Linked DNA regions of Homo sapiens: region 2 is linked to region 1. Evidence: promoter capture Hi-C in 16 types of primary human blood cells and fetal thymus (Javierre and others, 2016). All regions are on one chromosome and are shown on one strand. The core of a region is centred on a gene start or on the middle of the fragment in contact, and the rest is flanking DNA. Distances in the headings are between cores, read along the strand shown.

What was found. Contacts are between HindIII fragments. The CHiCAGO score rates a contact against its expected background, and 5 or more counts as called.
Region 2: a fragment that was not itself captured here is called in contact with the fragment with the promoter of CYSTM1 in region 1 in 1 of 17 cell types (neutrophils); the score reaches 5.6 in neutrophils.

Annotation. Positions count from the first base shown.
Region 1 is chr5:140,171,078-140,177,945 of GRCh38, reverse strand. CYSTM1 (cysteine rich transmembrane module containing 1) reads right to left here and starts at 2,758. Exons shown (of 3, transcript NM_032412.4): 1 at 2,661-2,758. RefSeq lists a silencer at 2,371-2,660 and an enhancer at 2,951-3,180. The HindIII fragment of the contact is 7,638 bases long and covers 1-4,828 here.
Region 2 is chr5:140,669,930-140,676,273 of GRCh38, reverse strand. It overlaps DND1 (DND microRNA-mediated repression inhibitor 1), which reads left to right and starts at 2,698. Exons shown (of 4, transcript NM_194249.3): 1 at 2,698-2,755; 2 at 2,886-3,003; 3 at 3,368-3,829; 4 at 4,524-5,480. The coding sequence starts at 2,732. The coding sequence ends at 4,981. It overlaps HARS1 (histidyl-tRNA synthetase 1), which reads left to right. Exons shown (of 13, transcript NM_002109.6): 11 at 1,141-1,257; 12 at 1,449-1,595; 13 at 1,946-2,369. The coding sequence ends at 2,017. WDR55 (WD repeat domain 55) reads right to left here. Exons shown (of 7, transcript NM_017706.5): 7 at 3,929-6,344. RefSeq lists enhancers at 2,233-3,028, 3,029-3,824. The HindIII fragment of the contact is 1,446 bases long and covers 1,227-2,672 here.

The DNA of each region.
Region 1 (6,868 bases), core at 1,509-4,008:
GCCCTGACAGCACATAGTTATTTTGTTTGGGAAAGGAGGGGGTGGACTGTTTCTTTCCAAAGGAACCATAATTAGTTGGCCACTTCAAATAGTATCAAAGAGATTTGGAAAACAGTTACTTTTCTAAATTTTTTAATGAGGCCAAGACATCTGATTTCCAGCGATTCTTAATATTAACAAGCTCCTGCAAAGCCCCTTAAAAATCACTATCATAATCTCTACCACTCAACAGGAACACACGGGGAAAAAACTACTCTGGCCTTTTACACACTTCGGGGCTTCTTTTACAGAGAATGACTTCACTGATCTGACTGGAAGTCCCGTTTCCCCAGGTCTCACCCTGGATTTGCACTCCTTTGAGTGCTGCACCGGTTTCTATATTTACGCACAAACCAGCTGCGGCCACCTTCCTTCGCAATTCCCAAACCTGCCTTTCACTGTACAGGATCCCTGGAGGTCCAATTCTGTTTTCTGGAGTCAAAGAAATACAAAATAATTTCACTACCTCCCAGAAAACAGACTTTGGTAAGTTTCAATATAAAATAGACAGCTCTTGAACCCAGGAGGCAAAGGTTGCAATGAGCCAAGATCTCGACACTGCACTCCAGCCTGGGCGACAGAGCAAGACTCCGCCTCAAAAATAAACAAATAAATAAAATAAAATAGACAGCTGTGTATTTTTGGTCCTAGCACCAATAAATTTCAGGGCTGGGAAAAATCATAAATTACCAAAGCATTCCTCTTCATATAACCAAAATATATTTTTCCTGTTGCTCAGGAAATTAAGACAAAATAGCCAACTAACACTTACGCAGCCTTACACGGAGAAACTCAAAGCTGGCAGGAAAGGACTAGAGATTTTTTTTTTTTTTTTTTTGAGACAGAGTCTCGCTCTGTCGCCCAGGCTGGAGTGCAGTGGCGCAGCCTCGGCTCACTGCAAGCTCCACCTCCCGGGTTCACGCCATTCTCCTGCCTCAGCCTCCCGTGTAGCTGGGATTACAGGCGCCCGCCACCACGCCCGGCTTATTTTTTATATTTTTAGTAGAGACGGGGTTTCACCGTGTTAGTCAGGATGGTCTCGATCTCCTGACCTCGTGATCCGTCCGCCTCGGCCTCCCAAAGTGCTGGGATTACAGGTGTGAGCCACCGCACCAGGCCAGGTCTAGAGATCTTTGATCTACAATCAACAAATAGTATGGGACTCCTTTCAGCGAATCCAATGCCCCACATGAATGTTTGGATGCTGGTTCTCCTTTAATAACTTCCCCCTATTAAATCTCTTACCAGTCATTTGGGGTTTGGGTTTCACCCTAGGGATACAAGGTGTTTGTAAGTCACTCTGAAACCTCTGAAGGGCAAAGTGTTGTGGACGCTATAATCTCCCTGCATACTGAGGGGGGCATAGCTCCCAACCAGTCATTAAATCCCGTCAAATGAGATACTCGAAAATGAGCTGCCCTTGGGTGGGTCCTTTCATAAAAAGGAATTTTTAAAAATCTGCTAACATGGTTACTCCACAAAGTTTACATGTATCATATTGTATAAATCTATAAATATGTACAATTATTTTTTGTTTAATTTCTAAAAATTTGCCAACAATGGCTGAAAAAGGCACCTGGCTGCCTGAGCCCCTACCCTTGTCGGTTACAAGTATTTCATAAGCAGGGTTTGAGGAATCCCATCAGAGAAGAGTGTTGTCACCTTTTTGCCGGAATGTCACACCAACTTCCTCAGTGTTCCCCTCACACCAACTTCCTCAGTGTTCCCCCTACCCCAATCTAGCCAACGTTTCAATGGCTCCCCACAGCACACAGTGCCTCTCAGGTGGGCACTCAAGGGTCCTTTCCTAATCCTCCCTAACCTAATTCTCCAAACTTTTTTTCCCCCAAAACAGCCCAGCAGACGGTCCAGTCAGTCCCCAAATCGTTTTTCCTCATGGTCTCCTTCCCCAGGGGTCCTCCCCTCCTTCTCTCCCCCCTGCAACCTCCACTGCTACCGGGAGATTAGTTCCCACCCGTCAGGACCCCGCTCAGATTTCACTTCCTCCAACAGGTCCGCTCAGATCCCAATCCACGGCTCTCAACAGCAGCCGGGATTCCTTTCCCCCGCAACGCCTTCTCTGAACACCCCGGCCTCCGAGCGCCGGCTTTGCGTTCCCTAGTTACTTCCAGTCACTAGTTACTTCCGCTCCGCTCCCACCCGCGGGACTCGCGACCTGCCCCCTGCCCCCGGCTGGCCCAGCTCGGAATAGGCAGAGCAGCGCCTCAGAAATCGCAGCCCAAGGCGAAGAAATCCAGAAGCCTCCCGCGGACGTCCCCCGGGACGGGGTGTGGCGAGCCCCGCTCCGAGCCCGCCGACTCCTCGTGAGACGAGAACCGCAGCGACGCGGAGACCCTGTGAGTCCACCGCCGAGACGCGCGGCGCGGCGACCAGGAGCCCCAGAGTAGCCGCGGGGCGCCGGGAGGGATCCAGCTGGCGGCAGCAGCTTCCCTGCCTCCCTGCCCCTCCCCAGGGGCTGCGCGAACCCCTGCCTGAGCCAGGCCAGCCCGGGTGCCCCCCAGTTCTCAGGGCGCTCCCCAGGGAGCCCGGGGACGCGCCCTGTCCGTGCCTGATCCCCGCCCTGGTCCCAGCTGGGTCGGGCCAGGTCCGCTGCACCTCACCTCTCCTCTCCACGAACCGACTGGATAACGGTCGGGTCTGAACCTGAGGAGCCCGGACCAGCCCGCAGTAGACTTGCCGCACCTGTCTCAGAGCAAGTGAGGAGCAGCCGGGCGCCTGACGTCACGGCCGCTCCCAGCGCCGCGAACCGGGAGTCACCTGATCACCCTGGCAACGCGCGCGGCGCGGGGCGAGGCGAGGCTTGCGTCACAGCACGAGCCCCGCCCCCAACTGCTCGGCCTCCAAGCGCCGCCGGAAGCGCTCTCTTGCAGTCGGCGCAGTCGGGAGGCGGGGTCGGTCTCCGACTTCCCAACGTGGGCCTCCCAGCTGCGCTGGATACTTAGGACTCCCACAGGCGTCCCCCTCAGATTGGATTGGTTCTCCGAGACTCCACCCGATACCCCAACTCCGCTAGTTCAGGCGCCTGGGAGGCAAGACCAGCGTCCATGCGGAACCCTGCTCAGTGCGTGGCATGAGGGGTCGGCTGTGGGCTGCTGCCTCCTCGTGTCTTGTTGGTCCAGACCCAACTAGGGTTGGGGGCTTACTTCCCGAGCTGTACCTGAGCGGAATGGGGCTGAGGCTGATAACTGGATTGCTCTCTGGCTACTTTTCCCCATAAACCTTGCAACAAGTAGTCCCGCCAGTACTTTAGAGTGTAATGAGACTTCATTCACATCAGGAGGGGGAAGGGGGACAGAATCTTCTGTCCTGAAGGTTTCCTTCTTCTGTTCCAACAGGAAGAGAAGTTACCGAAAAGCTCCCAGAGCAAGGCCTAGAATGAGCTTGCAAGTCCTACTTGCAAAAAATTTTTTATTTTTCATTTTAGAAATTGATTTTCTCTCCATATTCCTCCCCTTGCTTGCTATTAGGTTGGTGCAAAAGTAATTGTGGTTTTTGCATTTTTTTTTTAAATGGCAAAAACAGCAATTACTTTTGCACCACTCTAATATAAGTATATGCCTACAACTTTTGTTACTCTCTAGGCTTCCCAGATAAGACTATCAGCTTCGAAATGAAAATTTAACATCCCCTGGAGGTCTCAGTGTGAGAGTCACTGCCTATTTCACACCTTCACTATTTGCTGACTTTCATTTCAGTTTTACTCTCCTCATCCCTGCACTGCCAAGAAGGTTTCATATGTATTGAAACCTTCCCTCTCAAGAGTTTAGGATCTTAGACCAAGAAGTTAGTTTATAGTCAACTTCTTGTGAGCATCTTTTAGTGTCAGGCAATGGGCCATGGGCAGATTGAGATGTGGTTCTCGAAGATCAAACGTGTATGGGTGGTATGTCTCACATAAGTACAACTTGTACTGTTTATTATGACTTAATCATTGTATTTAAGTGGCACTTTTTAATTTTCACACTTAAAGAAACTCATATAAGTGGGAAAGAAGACAGCTGTGAAAGGTAGAGAAGAACCATGGCTCTAGACAGAGCTGTACTAATAGGAGAGAAGAGATTGAAAATGTGAGCCCAGGTCCCAAGGAGCACAGAGGCATGGTCAGAAGGTTGGTAGGAACAGGACAGAGGCAGCCAGGCCTGAGGTGTTTGGCAGATCTGAGGAGGGCAGGGATAGAGGGTGAGGGGAGGAGTGGGGCCAGAATGAGGCTTGAGGGATTCAATGGAGGGCGAAAGTGCTGGGAAGGGAGGAGGGATTGGAAAGAAAGGAGAAGTATGCAGTGGTTTGGGAAGGAGTTGCTGAAAGGGAGGGCAGGGTAAATAGAGACCCAGGAAAGGGTGCTAAGAGCATTAAGAGAAGGGAGGCTGAGAGGCTACAAAAAAGGACTGAGGGGGAGGAAGAAGCAGGTGGGAGACTCTGGGGCAGCAAACATCTCAGAACCAGTCAGTAGGTGGTGTCCTTCAGAGGCTGTTGGAGAAGAGCAGCATTGTCTGTTTGCCTCTGAAGAGTGAAGGTGATCCATGCACACCCCAAACTACCTCTGGACCATCTGAGGGTAAGAGCCACCCTTTGCAGAGCACTAATGCAGAGGGAAGAGCAGAAACAGGCACGTCCATAACTACACCCTGATAGTACTCAAGGCAGTCAGGCTTTTTGGCTGGACAGTTTTTCAGGCCTGTGGTACATGCCTCCGTGCCTCTAATCTGGGCAGGGCAAGGTGAGGATGGAGTGGAAGGCAGGGGTAATTCCCTTAGAAGGGAGGCAAGCTTCTCATGGCAGCTGGGTCATATGAAGGCTGTGCTAGGGAAGAAAAGATGCTAGGACACATTCTCAGTACGCTCCCTGACCACTCCCCTTTTACTGAGTTGGTAGGGTGAGGGCGTAACCATCGAAGGAAAAATAGAACATTCCTCACCCCCACCTCCACATCCATGCTGAGGAAAGTGTTATTATGTGGGTAAAAACTCAAGGAGTGTTGCTGACAGCATCCAAGAACAGAGATGAGGCCAGGGAATGCATCTCACATGGCTCTTTTCTAAGATTTTGACCTCAGGTCCCAGGACTAAGCAGCAGGCCAGATGTAGAAGTTGCTGGAGTTTCATCAGGTGTCTTCACAACAGCAGTGTGGGTTTCCATTCCTGGAAATAAAAGAAAAATGTCAGGGTACAAGGTCCTGGCCAAGCATATTTGCTGTGAAAGTCCATTAGTCACAGAAGTAACAATGAATTTTCAATATTTGTTCATTCGGGAGAACTGTCCAAGGACTGTGGAGGCAACATGGTGCAGTCGTTGGGAGCCTGTGTTCTGAGATTTATCCATTTTGTGAACTTGGCCAAGTTACTCACCTTCTTTGAGTCTCTGCCTTATCTGTAAAATAGAGATAATAATACCTACCTCACAAGACTATCATAAACTTTAGGTGAATTCCAGGGCAAAGAAAGAGAACCCAGATTCGTAATATTTTTTAAAGGGCCATTTTTTAAACCATTGTATTTTTATTGGACCACATTTGTTCTCTGAACAACTGGATGAAAGAATGTTTCTTGGATGCCTAATGTACACTCAAGACTGATGGATACAGAAGGAGCATGTGCCCTGGCTTGGTCAGGCATCCAATTTCTGATGGGAAGATAAGACAGTGTGAGACCTTGCCAGGCTGCTGTGAAATTGAATGCTAAACTATGTCATGTCCTTCCATGCCCGCAGCGTTCATGGAAAGAGGGGCCATGCCAGCTGCATTGGCTAAGGTGGGATACATGAAAGGAAGGGTCTGTAGCAGAGCCTTGAAAGATAGGATTGGCCAGGCACAGTGGCTCACGCCTGTAATCCCAGCACTTTGGGAGGCCAAGGTGGGTGGATCACTTGAGGTCAGGAGTTCAAGACCAGCCTAGCCAACATGGTGAAACCCCATCTCTATTAAAAGTACAAAAAGTAGCCAGGCGTCATGGCGCATGCCTGTAATCCCAGCTGCTCAGGAGGCTGAGGCAGAAGAATCGCCTGAACCTAGGAGGTGGAGGTTGCCATGAGCCAAGATTGTGCCACTGCGCTCCAGCCTGGGCAACAGAGCGAGACTCCATCACAGAGAAACAAAACAAAACAAAAAACAAAGACAAAAACAAAAAAAAGATAGGATTTGGAGAGGTGGTAGGTGAGGAGAACATTCTGGGTCAGGGCGGTGATCTGAGCAGCCGGGGCAGGGGCTCAGTAAATATTCACTGGCTAGATGAATGAATGAATGAGCAAAGATAATAATGAAATTATCAGCATAGTGTAAGATCAGCCACGCTTTGTTGAATGAATGGATGCATGATTAAACAAAAAAAGCAAAGACAATGAAATTAGGTAATGGTGGGCATAGCTGTAAGACCAGCCTAACTGAACCGTGGAAACTGGGGAGTTGTGGGAAATAAGATAGAGATGGAGCAGACTGTGGGAGAGCTTTTGAGACAGTAGAATCTTCTGGGAGGAGCATGGAGTCTGGATCCAGAGGGACAGGATTGCATTTGGACTCCATCACCACATATTGACCATGTGACTTTGAGTGAGTTACTTAATCTTTCTGTGCATTGGTTTCCTCGTCCAAAAAATATAGGAATAAGATTGATATCTGCTTTATAGTGTCACTTTGAAGATGAACTGAGCAACCTATGAAATGTAAGCATGATGCCTGGCCCATTGTAAGTGCCTTAAACTTAGTTTTTATTATTAGTTTTATTAAGGACTGAGCAGATGAGAATAGATTCAATATGAAAACTTAGGGAACCACTGAAGTTCCTTGAAGTGGGAAATGAGAATGGAATGCAGTGTT
Region 2 (6,344 bases), core at 700-3,199, 500 kb before region 1:
AGTAGCTAATTTTATTAATTGCATTTTCCAGATGAGAACACTGAAGCATTATAGATCAAATAATTTGCTTAAGGCCATGAAACTTGTAAGTGGTAGGGTCAGAATTTGAATCCAGGCAGTCTGACTCCAAAGTCTTGCCACTAACCACACTGCAATACTGTCTCTAAATGGGAAGCATGTGTCTGAGGCCCTGGGATCCCTCAGATGGCTACCGTGACTCTCTAGCACCTAGAGTAACACCAAGGAAGCCTCTTGTAGCCTCAAGCCCTCCTTTGTTGCTGCTGGTCTTAAGTGGCTGGTTGCATTTCATCTTCTGGGAAATGCTCTGGCAACCTCCCCACAGTCCTATGCCTTTTCTCTAGGGTGGAAACCACCCATTTCCCAGTTGAGATCATTTTTCCAGTAGGCATCTTACATTCTAAGAACTATGAAAATAGTTTTCCTGAAAAAGACAAGGGAAGCAGCAGCAGCATTCTCCTTTCCCCACACCCATATACACGCCTGTGCCCTGTAACTGAAGTGTGAGAGGCACAGTGTCATAAATGGGTAGATAGTAAGTGGGGACTAAAACTGTCAAGGGTGATCTAATTGGGGTGGGCTCATAGTAGTACTTCTGTGTGAATGCTTTGGTGGACCCTTAAGGTACTACATGGACCAGCCTGGGCAACATGATGAGACCCTGTCTCTACAGATTAAAAAAAAAAATTTTTTTTTTTTTTTAAATTAGCTGAGTATGGTGGTGTGTGCCTGTAGTCAGGAGGCTGAGGTGGGAGGATCACTTGAGCTTGGGAGGTCGAAGCTGCAGTGATCACACCACGGCACTTCAGCCTGGATGACAGAGACCCTGTCTCAAAAAAAAAAAAAAGGTACTACATGGAGATAAGCTTGAAGTTACTGTAAAAAAGCTACCTTTACTCTTGCCCTAAGTTATTTATTCTGATACGTCCTATGTACAAGTCAGTCAGTTCAGTCCTCATATCTACTAAAAGCTACCTTTATGCCCAAGGTGCTAGATGAGAAGACAGGGCCCCTGCCCTGGTAGAGCTGAGTTGGGCCTGGTCTCAAAATCCCGACTAGAGCCTGCTTTGTTTGCTCCTTGAAGGTGTTAGCCCAGCTCTCTTTTATCTGCCCCTTCCCCAGGCTTTGGAGGAGAAGATACGGACCACGGAGACACAGGTGCTTGTGGCATCTGCACAGAAGAAGCTGCTAGAGGAAAGACTAAAGCTTGTCTCAGAACTGTGGGATGCTGGGATCAAGGTATGGGAGGCAAGCCCCAGGGTGGCAGCAAACTTAGGTGTGCTGGACACAAACTGAATAAAAGCTCACCCATAATGGATCCTGCCATTACTTCTCAAAAGTAGAGCTAAGAACAGGGTGCCAGCTTGGACACCCTCTGTCCCTGAGGACAGCAGAAGCCAGCCTTCATCTTCTGCTCTTGTCCCCTGCAGGCTGAGCTGCTGTACAAGAAGAACCCAAAGCTACTGAACCAGTTACAGTACTGTGAGGAGGCAGGCATCCCACTGGTGGCTATCATCGGCGAGCAGGAACTCAAGGATGGGGTCATCAAGCTCCGTTCAGTGACGAGCAGGGAAGAGGTGAGGGAGGTGGGCAGGAAGGCTAAGGGACAGAGAATGTATGCCATTTTGGCAGGCCCATGCCCATTCAAGACCTGAGAAAAAGCCTGGCATTGATATTAGTACAACTCATAAAAGCCTTGAGGGCTTAACCTGTTACTGTGGTCTTAGTAGGGTGAGATCTCCATCCCTGCATATACCTTATGGTTTGTTGGCTCCCCCAAGAGGCACACTCTAGCCTGAGGTGTTTAATTAGGTTCCTGCTCCCAGCTGAGACAAGCCTGATGCCTAGAGGGCTAGAGGAAACTAGGCACTCGGGGAGCAGTGGAATGGAAGATGCTTATACCACCTTCTTCTCCCATCCTGGCCAGGTGGATGTCCGAAGAGAAGACCTTGTGGAGGAAATCAAAAGGAGAACAGGCCAGCCCCTCTGCATCTGCTGAACTGAACAAACTATCAGAGGAAAGGAAGTGGGACTGGCACTATTTGAGGTTAAGACAAACTGCATATGTACTTCAATTGCTTTGCACTTTTCCGTTTCAGCGGAAGACCTGAAGAGTGGTCAGAACAGAGCCTTTGATTTTTATTATGGTTATTTTATTGATTATTACTGGCAAAAACGGCCAGGTACAACACCTTTTTCATACAAGGCCCAGGAGGCTTAGTCCAGTCTGTGCTCCTGGGCTACAAGGACCCAGCCTGAGATGGTCCCATCTGCAGGGCCCCGCACCAGTTGGAGCAGATGCCTCCCCACCACCAATTGCCAAAGGTCCAATAAAATGCCTCAACCACGGAGTCTGCGTGTGTCAGTGATGCCTAGCCCCGCCTTCCCCAGCAGACCAATGTAGGGATGGAAAAGGGAGAAAAACAGTAAACTTGTGACCCTGAGGTTCTTGTCTCCAGCGTCCACCCTGCGGCTTGGGAGCTCCTCCTCGGGAGGCAGCCCCCGTACATACGCACCCGCGACTTTGCAGCTTTCACCTGAAGGTCTGAGCGAAGCCCGGGCGGCGCACGTGCAGTGGATACCTCCACCCCCCTGGGAGGCGGGGTCGCGCTCAGAGCCAATGAGAGCTTGCGGGGTGGAGGGGTAGGGAAGCTTCCAGAGGCCGGTGGGGAGGAAGTTATAAAGAGGGTACGAGGGGGCCAGCTGGAGAGCCATGCAGTCCAAGCGGGATTGTGAGGTAAGCGGCTGGCGACTTGGGGGCCGGCGAGCCCCGCCGGAGCGGGGGTCGGCTTTAGGGACCCCAGTACCACAGGAGAGGTGGGGGCGCGCTTGGCGATCCGCCATTCCAACCTTCCTTTCCCTCTCAGCTGTGGTGTGAGAGGGTGAATCCAGAGAACAAGGCGGCGCTGGAGGCGTGGGTCAGGGAGACAGGCATCCGCCTGGTGCAGGTGAACGGGCAGAGGAAGTATGGCGGGCCACCCCCAGGTACGGTAGTCCCAGCCCCTCCGCCTGTCCGGCTACACCAGCCCCCTTTGGGGGAGGGGCTGCTCCGAGCCTTCACTGTCAGAAACTGCGAACTACCCGGATTTATACCCCCCAGCAAAGGAGGAACTGTGGCTCCACGTCCACCCGCCCCGTCGAGGGAGGGGGCCAATCTCAAGGTGTACCTACTCTGTGCCAGCCCCCTTGTTAGCGCAGTCACCTAATTATGCCAACCACCCAGGGTACGGGTGTAAACCCATTTCACAGACCTTTGTTCACATCGCCTCCCACCCCCGCGCGCTGGGTCCGTGGGCTCAGAATTCGAAAGCGTCGCCTGACGGTGGCCTTGCATACCCTCTTCCCACAGGCTGGGTGGGCAGCCCGCCGCCAGCTGGGTCAGAGGTGTTCATCGGGCGGCTGCCTCAGGACGTGTACGAGCACCAGCTTATCCCGCTGTTCCAGCGCGTGGGCCGCCTCTACGAGTTCCGCCTGATGATGACCTTCAGCGGCCTGAACCGCGGCTTCGCCTATGCCCGCTACAGCTCGAGGCGCGGCGCGCAGGCCGCCATCGCCACGCTGCACAACCATCCGCTGCGGCCGTCCTGCCCGCTGCTCGTGTGCCGCAGCACCGAGAAGTGTGAGCTGAGCGTTGACGGCCTGCCGCCGAATCTGACCCGCAGCGCGCTGCTGCTCGCGCTGCAGCCGCTGGGTCCCGGCTTGCAGGAGGCGCGGCTGCTGCCCAGCCCCGGACCGGCGCCCGGGCAGATCGCTCTGCTCAAATTCAGCTCGCACCGGGCCGCTGCCATGGCCAAAAAGGCCCTGGTGGAAGGTAGGCTGGGGCGGGGGTGCTGGTTGGGGCCAAACGCGTTCTGCCCGGCACTTTATACTGAGCATAGCTGTTAAAGTTACAAGATCTTAGAGTCAAACATGCCAGAATTTGCAACCTTTTACTATTTGATCTCAGATTTTTAAAACTTCCAATGGTGCTACCACCACCGCTTACCTAAATTTGTGACACTTCCCGAGCATTACCTCCTGACTTAATTCTCAACCTTCCCCCACCCCCACACCGCAAAATAGGCACAGGACCCTCAAGCTATGAGGAAACTGTTAGAGAAATTGATTTGCTCAAGGGAATCCAACTGAGCTTTTTACTACTATAGAATCTGTTTCCTCAGACTGTTATGAGAATTAAGTAACATAATGGGTGTACGGTACTTAGCACACTGACTGACTTACAGCAAGTTTTCCCAGTAAAGATTAGCCATTATGATGGTTATGAGGCAGACAAAGCCTGCAATTAACCAGTACTTCTCCAAGGAAACTTGTAAGGTAGCAGTGTGTTATACTCCCTTTGCAAATAATGGAGGCTGAAGGCTTCATTGTCTTTTCTTACCCATGGTCACACTACCAGGAAATGGGAAGGCTACAAATAACAGGACTGTGTAGCTCCAAAGGGCTCACCACCTGGAGGCTTGGGCCCAGGGTTTAGACCTGCCCTTGTCTTTGCATTTTTCCTACAGGGCAGTCACACCTCTGTGGAGAGCAGGTGGCTGTGGAGTGGCTCAAGCCAGACCTGAAGCAGCGACTTCGCCAGCAGCTTGTGGGTCCCTTCTTGCGGTCCCCACAGCCAGAGGGCAGCCAGTTGGCTTTGGCAAGGGACAAGTTAGGGTTCCAAGGGGCTCGGGCTACCCTGCAGTTGCTGTGCCAACGAATGAAGCTGGGCAGCCCTGTGTTCCTCACCAAGTGTTTGGGCATAGGACCTGCTGGCTGGCACCGCTTCTGGTACCAGGTGGTGATTCCTGGGCATCCGGTGCCCTTCAGCGGCCTCATCTGGGTTGTGCTGACCCTAGATGGCCGGGATGGGCATGAGGTGGCCAAGGATGCTGTGTCTGTACGGCTGCTGCAGGCACTCAGTGAGTCTGGGGCCAACCTCCTGTGGTCTGCTGGGGCTGAGGCAGGTACCATGGTTAAACAGTGACTCCATTCTTTCTCCACAGGCACCCTGAATGGGCATGCAGAGCCTGTGTCAGGCCCCATCCCAGCAGGCCTGGGTGGCCACTTTCTGACCCCCAAAGGTGGGGAGGGGCATGGGCCCAGGCCCATCAGCCTCCCTGCTGGGACAGGGACCTATGGCACCTGGGGGCAGCTTAGGTTTGGGTTAAGTTGTGGTGAGGGGCCTTGCCCTCCCGCTCCCAGCCCAGGGTCCAACCTGACCCAGTGATCTTCCATGGCCGTTCCTTGTCCCACCCCCACCCGATCATACCTTCCCCCCTCTGCCACAGCTTAGCATGAATCTTCTTTATTGTCCTGATTTGTCCTCTTTGTTGGTTTTTATTTGTGGGGAAGGGCAGCTGAGCCAAAGGGGTCAGAAATTCTGCCCTTTGCCTCCACCACATGGCATTCTGGTTTTGGTTTCTGTATAGTTTTGGGTCTTTCTATGCTGGTTGTATTTATATTAAACCCCTGGTTAGTATATACTTGTGTCTGTGCTGTCTTGCCCTAGCTTAGAGTTTGTTTACACTGGTAGAGTGAATAGCTGCTACGGGGCAAGTACTTCCTCACATCAGTGCTTTGAGTGCATCTTCTTGTGTTGCACTGTAGGGTATTATAAATTCATATCCAGGCCGGGTGTGTTGGCTTTTGCCTGTAATCCCAGCACTTTGGGAGGCTGAGGCGGGTGGATCACCTGAGGTCAGGAGTTCGAGACCAGCCTGGCCAGCATGGAGAAACCCCGTCTCTACTGAAAATACAAAAATTAGCCTGGCATGGTGGCAGACACCTGTAATCCCAGCTACTTGGGAGGCTGAGGCAGGAGAATTGCTTGAACCCGGGAGGCGGAGGTTGCAGTGAGCCAAGATCACGCCATTGCACTCCAGCCCTGGCAACAAGAGCGAAACCCTGTCTCAAAAAAAAAAAAAAAAAAAATTTCATATCCAGCCAGGCACAGTGGCTCATGCCTGTAATCCCAGCATTTTGGGAGGCCAAGGCAGGAGGATCACTTGAGCCCAGGAGTTCCAAGACCAGCTTGGTCAACATAGTGAAACCCCTGGTCTCTACCAAAAAAAAATCACAAAAATTAGTCAAGCATGGTGGCAGATGCCTGTTAAGTCTCAGCTACCAGGCAGGCTGAGGTGGATCACTTGAGCCCAGGAAGTCAAGGATGCAGTGAGCCATGATCAACCCACTGTACTCCAGCCTGGGTGACAGAGTGAGACCTTGTCTCAAAAAATATAAATTTTTTTGGCCAGGTGTGGTGGCTCGTGCCTGTAATCCCAGCACTTTGGGAAGCAGAGGCAGGTGGATCATTTGAGTCCAGGAGTTGAAGACCAGCCTGGGCAAAA